2 separate regions of the Homo sapiens genome follow, and region 2 is linked to region 1. The links are contacts of gene promoters, found by promoter capture Hi-C in human tissues and cell types (Jung and others, 2019). All regions are on one chromosome and are shown on one strand. The core of a region is centred on a gene start or on the middle of the fragment in contact, and the rest is flanking DNA. Distances in the headings are between cores, read along the strand shown. Region 1 holds the start of GNA11 (G protein subunit alpha 11). Region 2 holds the start of CREB3L3 (cAMP responsive element binding protein 3 like 3).

Region 1 (5,714 bases), core at 826-3,325:
ACACCAGTAATTCCTAACTCCCCTCCATCCAAACAAAGTCCACGACCCACTACAAAAGCCAGCCAGTGCCACTCTGTGCAAAGTGCCACCACGCGGGCCGCACTGCACATTTCCTCCAAACGTGAGGACCACGGCTCTGCCTACCCGCGGCCCCCTGGAAAGATGGCCCATTTTAGAACCCTTAGGTAAATCAAAACACAAGTTTGGGGAAAAAAATCAGGAAGGCGTTTCATCCAAGGCACCTCTGTAACCCGGGACACGGAGGGCCCTAAGAGGCTCACGGCAGGAGAGGCAACGTGTTCCCCACACAACATGCGACCTGCCTCCTCCCCAAGAGCCACCGCCACCAGCACGCCCCCTCCTCCGTCACCGCTGCCTCTCACGCATTTCCGACCTTCCCCACCGCCCCGCCCCCGGCCCAGGAGCTAACCTAGGAGCTCGGGAGGGCAGGGGCGGGGCAGGGCAAGAGCTTCTGTTTTGTAAACCACTGAAGGGGCCCTTATTTGGAGTGACAACACTTTACAGCTGGCCCGACTGGCTCCCTGCAGCAGGTGTGCCTTGGGGAGAAGGAGGTTCACCAGCAAACCTTCTCCAGGACGGTGGGGAGGAGCCGGCAGGTGGGGGGCTGCTCTCAACGAGGACTCAGCGTGGCTCCCACCAGGACTCTAAGGAAGGGGGCGGGGGAGGCTGCCGAGATAGCTGCTTGGGACAACAAGCAAAGGCTCCCTCAGGTGTCAACCGCCCCACCCTCAGCTGAGCGGAACCCTGAGGAGAGGAAAGACTGTCTTTTTCCCACAGGGTGCATTCCAGCCAAGAGGAGTACGGGGTTTCCCGGAACAGGAAGGCAGGAGAATGGCCCTGAAGGGAATGTGGGGATAGGGGACACGGAGGAGTCTTCGGGGGGATGGGGGGGTGTACAGGGCCTGCATGGAGGGTACAGGGCCTGCATGGAGTGTACAGGGCTCTGCCTGGAGGGAAGGGTCAACGCGGGGCCCTGAGCAGTGAGGGGTGAGTGTGCCCTGTGGGTTACAGCCCAAAGGTCTGGCCCTGAAGGGGTAGCGAGGGGTGGGTACTCCGGTGGGGTAAGGTCAGAAGGTCCCTGTGCAGGGAGGGACTGGTCCCTTGAGAAGGAACAGAGGGCAAATCCTGAAGAGTCCTGGAGGCCCAATGTAGACAGCAGAAGCTGGGAGCTGACCTAGGAGTGATCGGGGGCCTGATCCAGACAGGACAGACACAGGCTGACACCGGAGAGTCCCAGGTGCCAACATGAACAGTTAAGGCAGGGGCTGACCCCAAAGAAATCAGGGGCCCGCAGCTGACCCCGGAGGGTCCCAGGTGCCGACCTAGACAGCAAAGGCAGGGCTGACCCCAGAGGGTCCCGAGCCGACCCAGACGACACAGGCAGGGCTGATCCCGGAGGGCCCCGCCCCGACCCGGACAGGCAGTGAAGGCACAGGCAGGGCTGACACTCGAGGGTCCCGCGACCCGGACAGGCAGGGAAGGCACAGGCAGGGCTGACCCCGGAGGGTCTCGCGACCCGGACGGCACAGGCAGGGCTGACCCCGGAGGGTCCCGGCCCGACCCGGACAGGCAGGGCAGGCACAGGCAGGGCAGGGCCCGCAGCCGGCAGGCCCGGGGGCCGCACTCACCGAGCAGCAGCAGCTTGAGCTCGCGCCGGGCGTCGCGCTTGTCCCGCCGCAGCTGCTTCTCGATCTCGGCGTTGATCCGCTTGGACTCCTTCACCTCATCGCTCAGGCAACACGCCATCATGGACTCCAGAGTCATCGTCCCGGCCCCGGCCGACGCGGCCGCCTGCCCGCCGCCGCCCCCCGGCCCCCGGCCCGGCCCTGGCCGGAGCCGCCTCGGCCGCCGCCCGCCGCGGCCCTCCGGCCTCGGCCACCGGCCCTCGGCCCCGGGCCGGCCCGCCCCGCCTCGGCCGCCGCCTGGCGAGCCGCCGGGTCCCCGCTCGGGCCGCGCCAGCCGCGGACTCCCGCGCGGCCGCACTCAGCCCGCGCCGCCGCCGCAGCCACCGCCAACCGCAGCCGCCGCAACCGAGCGACAGCGCCGGACAACCTAGCAGGCTGGGAGCGCAGCCCGCGACGGGCAGACGGTGCGGCCAATGGGAGGGGCCGGCGGCCAAGCGCGCCCACCATGGGGGCGGGACTAGCGGCCTGGGCGGGGCGTCGGCGGGCGCGAAAGGGGCGGGGCGGGGCGAGGGCGGGGGGCCCGCGGGTTTGGTTGCGCCGACGTGGGAAGGGGGACGCGCAGCCGGGAGCCGGGGCGGGGCCGCCCGGGATTGTGGGAATGTGGCGGACTCGGCCCGGCCAGGCTCGGCTCCGCTCGGCTCCGTTCGGCCCCGCTCGGTCCCGCTCGGCTCGGCCCAGGCGCGGTGGCGGAGGCGCGCACGCGGCCGCTGCGCTCTCTGGGTCTCCAGGTGCCTGGGCAGCAGTCGCTGCCCCCGGGAAGCGCCCTGACATTGCCTGACAGGAACCTTCACTCATCCATTAAAAAGCGTTAATGGAGGTCGGGCGCGGTGGCTCACGCCTGTAATCCCAGCACTTTGGAAGGCCGAGGCGGGCGGATCACCTGAGGTCTGGAGTTCGAGACCAGCCTGACCAACAGGGAGAAACGCCGTCTCTACTAAAACTACAAAATTAGCCCGGCGTGGTGGTGCACGCCCGTAATCCCAGCTACTCGGGAGGCTGAGGCAGGAGAATCACTTGAACCCAGGAGGCGGAGGTTGCAGTGAGCCGAGATCACGCCATTGCACTCCAGCCTGGGCAACAAGAACGAAACTCCGTCTCCAAAGAAAAAAAAAAAAAAAGAGGGCCGGGCGCGGTGGCTCACGCCTGTAATCCCAGCACTTTGGGAGGCCGAGGCGGGTGGATCACGAGGTCAGGAGATCGAGACTATCCTGGCTGACACGGTGAAACCCCGTCTCTACTAAAAATACAAAAAATTAGCCGGGCGTGGTGGCGGGCGCCTGTAGTCCCAGCTACTCGGGAGGCTGAGGCAGGAGAATGGCGTGAACCCGGGAGACGGAACTTGCAGTGAGCTGAGATCATGCCACTGCACTCCAGCCTGGGCGACAGAGCGAGACTCTGTCTCAAAAAAAAAAATTAAAAAGCGTTAATGGGACACCTACTGTGTATCAGGCATTAATGGGACACATTCTATATGCCAGGCACGGACCAGAGATTAATGGAGTGCCTGCTGTCCATCAGGTGTCAATCAGGCCTTACTGCAGTGCCTGCACCATTCCAGGCCAGGTATACGCATTCATGAAATGCCTACAGGATACCAGGCACTGCTGTAAGCCCGTTAAGCTAACCCTACCCAAGGGATATCTTTTTTTTCTTCTTCTTTTTTTGAGATGGAGTCTTGCTCTGTCGCCCAGGCTGGAGTGCAGGGGCGTGATCTAGGTTCATTGCACCCTCTGCCTCACAGGCTCTAGTGATTCTCCTGCCTCACCCTCCCAAGTAGCTGGGATTACAGGCGCGCCACCATGCCTGGCTAATTTTGTATTTTTAGTAGAGAGCGGGTTTCGCCACGTTGGCCAGGCTGGTCTCAAACTCCTGGCCTCTAGTGATCTGCCCTCCTCGGCCTCCCAAAGCGCTGGGATTATAGATGTGAGCCACCTCACCCAGCCATATCTTTATCCTTACTTTGCAGATGAAATGGAAGTGGCCACCAGAATTTATAAAAACGTGTGTTCCCACCACCTTGCTGACTACTGAAAACCCTTTTCCCTCTCTGGCCTCCTTGGCCAACCCCTGAGCATCCTCTCCGTTTCAATTCAGACGTCAGCTCCTCAGGGAGACTTCTCCTGACTCCTCAGACCAAGCCAGGTACCTTCTCTTGAGCCACAACTTGAAATTGTATGTTCTGGCCAGGTGCGGCAGCTCCTGCCGGTAATCCCAGTACTTGGGAGGCCAAGGCAGGTGGACCGCTTGAGCTCAGGAGTTCGAGACCAGCCTAGATAACATGGCGAAACCCCATCTCTACTAAAAATACAAAAAATTAGATGGGTGTGGTGGCACATGCCTGTAATCCCAGCTACTCGGGAGGCTGAGAGGATCACTTGAGCCCAGGAGGCAGATGTTGCAGTGAGCGGAGATGGGGCTACTGCACTCCAGCCTGGGACACAAGAGTGAGACCCTGTATCAAAACAAAACAAAACAAAACACCAGAGTGGCCAACATGGTGAAACCCCCTCTCTACTAAAAATACAAAAATGACCCGGGCGTGGTGGCGGGCACCTGTGGTCTCAGCTACTTTTGCTGAGGCAGGAGAATCGCTTGAACCCGGGAGGCAGAGGTTGCAGGGAGCTGGGATCATACCACTGCATTCCAGCCAGGGCAACAGAACGAGACTCCGTCTCAAAAAAAAAAAAAAAAAAAGGCCGGGTGTGGTGGTTTATGCCTGTAATCCCAGCACTTTGGGAGGCCGAGGTGGGCAGATCACCTGAGATCGGGAGTTCAAGACCAGCCTGACCACCATGGAGAAACCCCGTCTCTACTGAAAATACAGAATTAGCCAGGCACGGTGGCTCATGCCTGTAATCCCAGCTACTTGGGAGACTGAGGCAGGAGAACCTCTTGAACCCGGGAGGCGGAGGTTGCAGTGAGCTGAGATCGCACCATTGCACTCCAGCCTGGGCAACAAGAGAGAAACTCCGTCCAAAAAAAAAAAAAAACAAAAAAGCAGGGTGTGGTGGCTCATGCCTGTAATCCCAGCACTTTGGAAGGCCAAGGCAGGCAGATCACTTGAGGTCAGCAGTTTGAGACCAGCCTGGCTAACATGGCAAAACCCTGTCTCTATTAAAAATACAAAAAAATTAGTGGACACCTGTAATCCCAGCTACTCGGGAGGCTGAGGCAGCAGAATCTCTTGAACCCAGGAGGTGGACGTTGCAGTGAGCCGAGACCACACCACTGCACTCCAGCCTGGGCGACAAGCGTGAAACTCCATCTCCAAAAAAAAAAAAGAAAGAAATTATATATTCTTCTGGGTGCCTCTCTGTAGACTCAGTTTCCCAAATTGGCCATCAGCTCCATGAGGTCAGAGCCTGTCTGGTTCACCTAGAACAAAGATTGGCAATCCACAACCCTCGGCCCTATGGTCCATAAGCTTCGAATGGCTTTTACTTTTTTTTTTTTTGAGACGGAGTCTTGCTCTGTCGCCCAGGCTGGAGTGTAGTGGCATGATGTCAGCTCACTACAAGCTCCGCCTCCCAGGTTCACGCCATTCTACTGCCTCAGCCTCCCGAGTAGCTGGGACTACGGCACCCGCCACCACGCCTGGCTAATTTTTTTGTTGTATTTTTTAGTAGAGATGGGGTTTCACCGTGTTAGCCAGGATGGCCTCAATCCCCTGACCTCGTGATCTGCCTGCCTCGGCCTCCTAAAGTGTTGGGATTACAGGCGTGAGCCACCGCGCCCAGCCTGGCTTTTACATTTTTAAACGGTTTTAAAAAATCAAAAGAAAGTAATATTTAGGTAGACATAAAAATTATATGGAACTCAAATTTCAGTGTCCATGTATAGGATTTTGTTGGAAGCCAGTCACATCCATTGATTTCCATACTGAGTGTGGCTACTCTTACCCCACAGGGCAGCATTACAAGAACTCTTCAAAGATTTCCTATGTGGTCCCTTACAGAAAGAGACCTAGAATGAGGCTCTAACACACACTAGGTGCTCAATCGATGTGTT
Region 2 (5,714 bases), core at 1,695-4,194, 1.1 Mb before region 1:
CGAGATCACGCCACCGCACTCCACCCTAGGCAACAGAGCAAGACTCCATCTCAAAAAAAAAAAAAAAAGAAAAAAAGAAAAACAAAAGAGCCAGGCACGGTGGCTCAGGCCTGTAATCCCAGCACTTTGGGAGGCCAAGGCGGGCAGATCACCTGAGGTCGGGAGTTTGAGACCAGCCTGACCAACAGGGAGAAACCCCGTCTCTACTAAAAATTCAAAATTAGCCAGGCATGGTGGCACATGCCTGTAATCTCAGCTACTCGGGAAGCTGAGGCAGGAGAATCACTTGAACCTGGGAGGTGGGGGTTGCGGTATGCCAAGATCACACCATTGCACTCCAGCCTGGGCAAAACAACAGCGAAACTCTGTCTAAGAAAGAGAGAGAGAGAGGAAGGAAGGGAGGAAGGGAGGAAGGGAGGGAGGGGGAGAGAGAGAGAGACAGAGAGAGAGGGGGGGAGAGAGAGAGAGAGAGAGAGAGAGAGAGAGAGAGAGAAACGAGAGAGAGAGAGAAAGAAAGAGAAAAAAGGGCCGGGTGTGGTGGCTCACGCCTATAATCCCAGCACTTTGGGAGGCCAAGGCAGGTGGATCACCCGAGGTCAGAAGTTCAAGACCAGCCTGGCCAACATGGTGAAACCCCATCTCTACTAAAAACACAAGAAATTAGCCGAGCGTGGTGGCGGCTGCCTGTAATCCCAGCTACTCGGGAAGTTGAGGTAGGAGAATCACTTGAACCTGGGATGCGGAGGTTGCAGTGAGCCAAGATCGCGCCATTGCGCTCCAGCCTGGGTGACAAGAGTGAAACTCTATCTCAAAAAAAAAAAAAGAGAGTAAAAGAAAGAGGGAGAAAGGAAGGAAAAAAGGAAGGAAGGAAGGAAGGAAAGAGAAAAAGAGAGAGAAAAGAAAGAAAAAAAAGAAAGTGGGCCGGGCGCGGTGGCACACGCCTGTAATCTCAGCACTTTGGGAGGCTGAGGTGGGTGGATCACAAGGTCAGGAGTTCAAGACCAGCCTGGCCAGGATAGTGAAACCCATCTCTACTAAAAATACAAAAATTAGCCAGGTGCAGTGGCGGGCGCCTGTAATCCCAGCTACTTGGGAGGCTGAGGCAAGAGAATCGCTTGAACCCGGGAGGCAGAGGTTGCAGTGAGCCGAGATGGCACCACTGCACTCCAGCCTGGGCAACAGAGCGAGACTCCTTCAAAAAAAAAAAAAAGAAGAAGAAAGAGAGAAAGGAAGGAGAGGAAGGAGAAGAGAACCGAACCTAGCCAGGGAGATGCCCCAAGTTTGAGTTTGAACCTAACTCCAAATTGCTGTGTGACTTTGGATGAGTTTCCACCCTGCTCTGGGCCTCCATTCCCCACCTGTAAGAAGGAGCTGATGCTACCCGCTAAATGATGTGCTTGGCTAAAATCAAGCACCGTGACCCATTAGTGCATCGTAGAGCTGAGCAGAGCTCTGGCTGGGCTCTGGCGGGTCTAGCACCTTCGTGGGGCCTCAGTTGGCCCGCCTGGAGCTCTGTGGTCCCGGGGCAACTGCAGTGGACTCCTCACCTGGTCCTTGACGTGACCCCAGCCCTCGCCCAGCTCCACGTGTCTCAGGATGCCGTCCTGCCGGTCAAACAGGAGATCCAGGAGCTCAAAGCTGTCGATGGGGTCCATGGAGCAGGCAGCAGAAGCCATCTGGGGCGCGAGGAACAGATGTGAGGGTCACATACAGCCCCTGTCCTCCCCACCTCCCATGTGCACATAACCCTGGCTCTTTCCGGCTAGAGTTCAGTTGCCGCTCTGCCTCCGGGTTGGGCCAGCTGCTGCCCCTCGCTGAGACTCCCTTTCCAAATCTGGACTTTGAGGCTGATAGAGAGAATTCCACAGTGTGAGAGCCAATTTCTCTTAAAGTGCTGGAGAGGCTGGATGTGGTGGCTCATGCCTGTAATCTCAGCACTTTGGGAGGCCGGGGCAGGAGGATCACTTGAGCCCAGGAGTTCAAGACCAGCCTGCGCAACATAGAGACCCCTATCCCTACTGCAAATAATTTAAAAAAATTAGCTGGCTGCGGTGGCACACACTTGTCGTCCCAGCTACTGGGGAGGCTGAGGTAGGAGGATCCCTTGAACCCAGGAGGTTGAGGCTGCAGTGAGCTATGGCCACCCCACTGCACTCCACCCTGGGTCACAGAGCAAGACCTTGTTTCAAAAAACAAAAAAGTATGGCAGGCACGGTGGCTCACATCTGTAATCCCAGCACTCTGGGAAGCCGAGGCGGGCAGCTCACCTGAAGTCAGGAGTTTGAGACCAGCCTAGCCAACATGGTGAAACCCTGTCTCTAGGAAAAGTACAAAAATTAGCCGGGCGTGGTGGTGCACACCTGTAATCCCAACTACTTGGGAGGCTGAGGCAGGAAGATCTCTTGAACCCAGGAGGTGGAAGTTGCAGTGAGCTGAGATCGTGCCATTGCACTCTAGCCTGGGTGACAGAGGGAGACTCCATCTCAAAAAATAAAAATAAAAATAAAATAAAATAAAATAAAAAGTGCTGGAGAGAGGCCCTAGCTAGAGATGCCGCTTGCCTCTCAGGCCTTCACAGCCTCCCCAAGTGCCCGCTCCTAGGAGGCAGGGGGACCTGGAAGAAAGACAAGGGCAGCCCCGGGGCAAAGGCACACAGTTTTGCTCATTGCATCCTTTCTCTGGGCCTCAGTCTTCCCATCTGTACAATAGGGGTGGAGATGGGGTCCTTCCAGCTCTGGCAGCTTGGGTAGGCTTTCCCAGCCTAGACTCCCGCTCTCCCTGGGGACCTAGTAGGGCTCACCTTTCCAGCAGCTAAATCCGTATTCATGGGTCCATCCAGTTCTGTCTGCAGATGCCTCGGGGGGTCTCTGCTCCAAGCTGGAGGCCCACCCACCGCCAGCGTTACCTGGGGCCGGGCAAGCTCACAGCCCTCTGTGGCTCTGTCACCACTCCCAAAAGATGCTGAAGCGGTCACAGGCAGCTCCCAGCCCACCTCCAGGTGCTGATTGGTGGACAGGGTGGAGAGACAGGGTTGAGGGCCAGTGACACTGGGGCAGGCAGGAGCAGGGGAGGGAAGACCGTTATCTGGGTGTTTTGTGGTTTTCCAGCCCTCAGTGAGCAAAGGTCGAAGTCTGGGGTACCTCCACTCTGCCGTGACCTCTGCCCTACTTATGAGGACTTTTTCTTTTTTTCTTTCTTTTTTGAGACGGAGTCTCGCTCTGTGGCCCAAGCTGGAGTGCAGTGGTGCCATCTCATTTCGGCTCACTGCAACCTCTGCCTCTTGGGTTCAAGTGATTCTCCTGCCTCAGCCTCCCGAGTAGCTGGGACTACAGGTCCCCATCACCATGCCCGGCTAACTTTTGTATTTTTAGTAGAGACGAGGTTTCATCATGTTTTCCAGGCTGGTCTCGAACTCCTGACCTCGTGATCGGCCCCTCAGTCTCCCAAAGTGCGGGGATTACAGGCGTGAGCCACCGCACCCGGCCAGTTACAGGACTTTTTCTCTTCAGAATTCCCAGATGGGTTCTGGGATAGCCCAGGGCCCTTACATGGGTCCTGTCCACTCCCTGGACAGAAACAAACCAAGAGGACCAGACCAGATCTTCACTGAAGCCAGTTTTCCTGCCAGCAGCTAGCGGCTCCCATCCTTCACCCCACCTGCCAACCTCCGGCCCCCAGCCCCCTCCGAAACCAGCTTGGACTCCGCCTCTGAGTCCCCATGGGTGATTCTGTGCAATCAATTCTCTCTAGAATCTTCTATCGTTCATTGAGTCAACAAATATTTATGGAGCCAAACTGGTTCCTGCTTAGGGCCTTTGCACCTACTCACCTGCTCGCCCCTCTGCCTGGAACTCTCCTCTTGTACCCTCCCTCTTCCCCTCTGGCTCTAGGTCACTGTATTGACATTTTAGTGAATGTTCGATATTTGTGAATCAGCCCGGGTGGCTGAGAGGTGTCTCTGACCTCCCCTCCACCCCCTACCAAGAGAGAGGAGCCCTGTTTTGTTTTTTTGTTTTTTTTTTTGGTGTTGGTGGAGGACAGGGTCTCACTCTATTGCCCAGGCTGGAGTGCAGTGGCAGGATCATAGCTCACTGCAGCCTCCAACTCCTGGGTTCAAGTGATCCTCCCGTCTCAGCCTCCCAAGTAGCTAGGACTGCAGGCGTGCACCACCACACCTGGCTAATTTTGTTTTTTTTTTTTTATAGAGATGGGGTCTTACTGTGTTGGCCAGTATGGTCTCAAACTCCTGGGCTCAAATGATCCACCTGCTTCAGCCTCCCAAAGTGCTGGATTTACAGGCATGAGCCACTGTGCCCAGGCAAAGTCCCCCTTTAGCAGATGACATATTAGACCAAGCGTGGTGGCTCACATCTGTAATGCCAGCACTTTGGGAGGCCGAGGTGGGTGGATCACCTGAGGTCAAGAGTTTGAGACCAACCTGGCCAACATGGTGAAACCCCATCTGTACTAAAAATATAAAAATTAGATGGGTGTGGTAGCACATGCCTGCAATACCAGTACTCGGGAGGCCGAAGCAGGAGAATCACTTGAACCCAGGAGGCGGAGGTTGCAGTGAGCTGAGATCACACCACTGCACTCCAACCTGGGCGACAGTGAGACTCTGTCTCAAAAAAAAAAAAAATGACATGTTCAGTGCAGTCCTGAAGGATGAGATGGAACTGGCCCTGGGAAGGTCTGGGGAAAGGTGTCCCAGGCAGAGGCACAGTTTGTGCAAAGGCCCTGAGGCAGGTCCGTGCCTAGCGCATTGGAGGAACAGCAATGAGACCCCTGTGGCTGGAGCAGAGTGAGGAGAGGAAGACAGGCAGGAGAGGAAGACAGGGAGGAGGGGAAGGCAGGGAGGAGGGGAAGGCAGGGAGGGGACGGGGCAGGTCGTGCAAAGCCCTGTGTGTTGTGGCAAGGAGTTTGGTTTGTGCTAAACAGCAGGGCACTGTTGGAAGTTTAGCAAATAGGAGACTAAATCAAGCTTTCTGTTTGCTGGACACTGTGCCATGTGCTAGGTTGAGAGGGGTAATTTATGTGCCCTCCTTGCTCTAAAAAAATTCACATCCTGGTTCCCTTCCCCTTCCTTCCTTCCTTTCCTTCCTTCCTTCCTTCCTTCTCTCCCTCCCTCCCTCCCTCCTTCCTTCCTTCTTTCCTCTCTCTTTTTTTCTCTTTTCTCTCTCTATCTTTCTTTCTCTCTTTCTTTCTTTCTTTCTCAAGACAGAGTCTCGCTCTGTCGCCCAGGCTGGAGTGCAGTAGCACAATCTCAGCTCACTGCAACCTCCACTTCCCAGGTTCAGGCGATTCTCCTGCCTCAGCCTCCTGAGTAGCTGGCATTACAGGCTCCCACCACCACACCCAGCTAATTTTTGTATTTTTGGTGGAGATGGGGTTTCACCATGTTGGCCAGGCTGGTCTTGAACTCCTGAATTCAAGTGATTCACCCGCCTTGGCCTCACAAAGTGCTGGGATTACAGGCATGAGCCACCACGCCCGGCCTGGTTTATATTTTTCAATGGATCACTCATATGTATTCATGAAATCAAAATTCAATAAGGGGCTACCATATGCCACACACGATATGGTTCTTTTATCCAACACTAACTCACATTACTGCACTTGCCCTCCACTAGGGCAGACTGGAGTGCAGTGCTGTGATCAAAACTCATTGCAGCAGGCCGGGCACAGTGGCTCATGCCTGGAATCCCAGCACT

What was found. Contacts are between HindIII fragments. The study calls those that stand out against the background at their distance.
Region 2: the fragment with the promoter of CREB3L3 here is called in contact with the fragment with the promoter of GNA11 in region 1 in 1 of the 25 tissues and cell types used here (hippocampus).

The regions. Positions count from the first base shown.
Region 1 is chr19:3,090,723-3,096,436 of GRCh38, reverse strand. It overlaps GNA11 (G protein subunit alpha 11), which reads right to left and starts at 2,075. Exons shown (of 7, transcript NM_002067.5): 1 at 1,650-2,075. The coding sequence starts at 1,785. RefSeq lists enhancers at 1-296, 297-1,282, 1,283-2,270 and silencers at 323-412, 1,567-1,696, 2,017-2,136, 2,157-2,406. The HindIII fragment of the contact is 21,058 bases long and covers 1-5,714 here.
Region 2 is chr19:4,150,861-4,156,574 of GRCh38, reverse strand. CREB3L3 (cAMP responsive element binding protein 3 like 3) reads right to left here and starts at 2,944. Exons shown (of 10, transcript NM_032607.3): 1 at 2,801-2,944; 2 at 1,548-1,676. The coding sequence starts at 2,827. The HindIII fragment of the contact is 37,156 bases long and covers 1-5,714 here.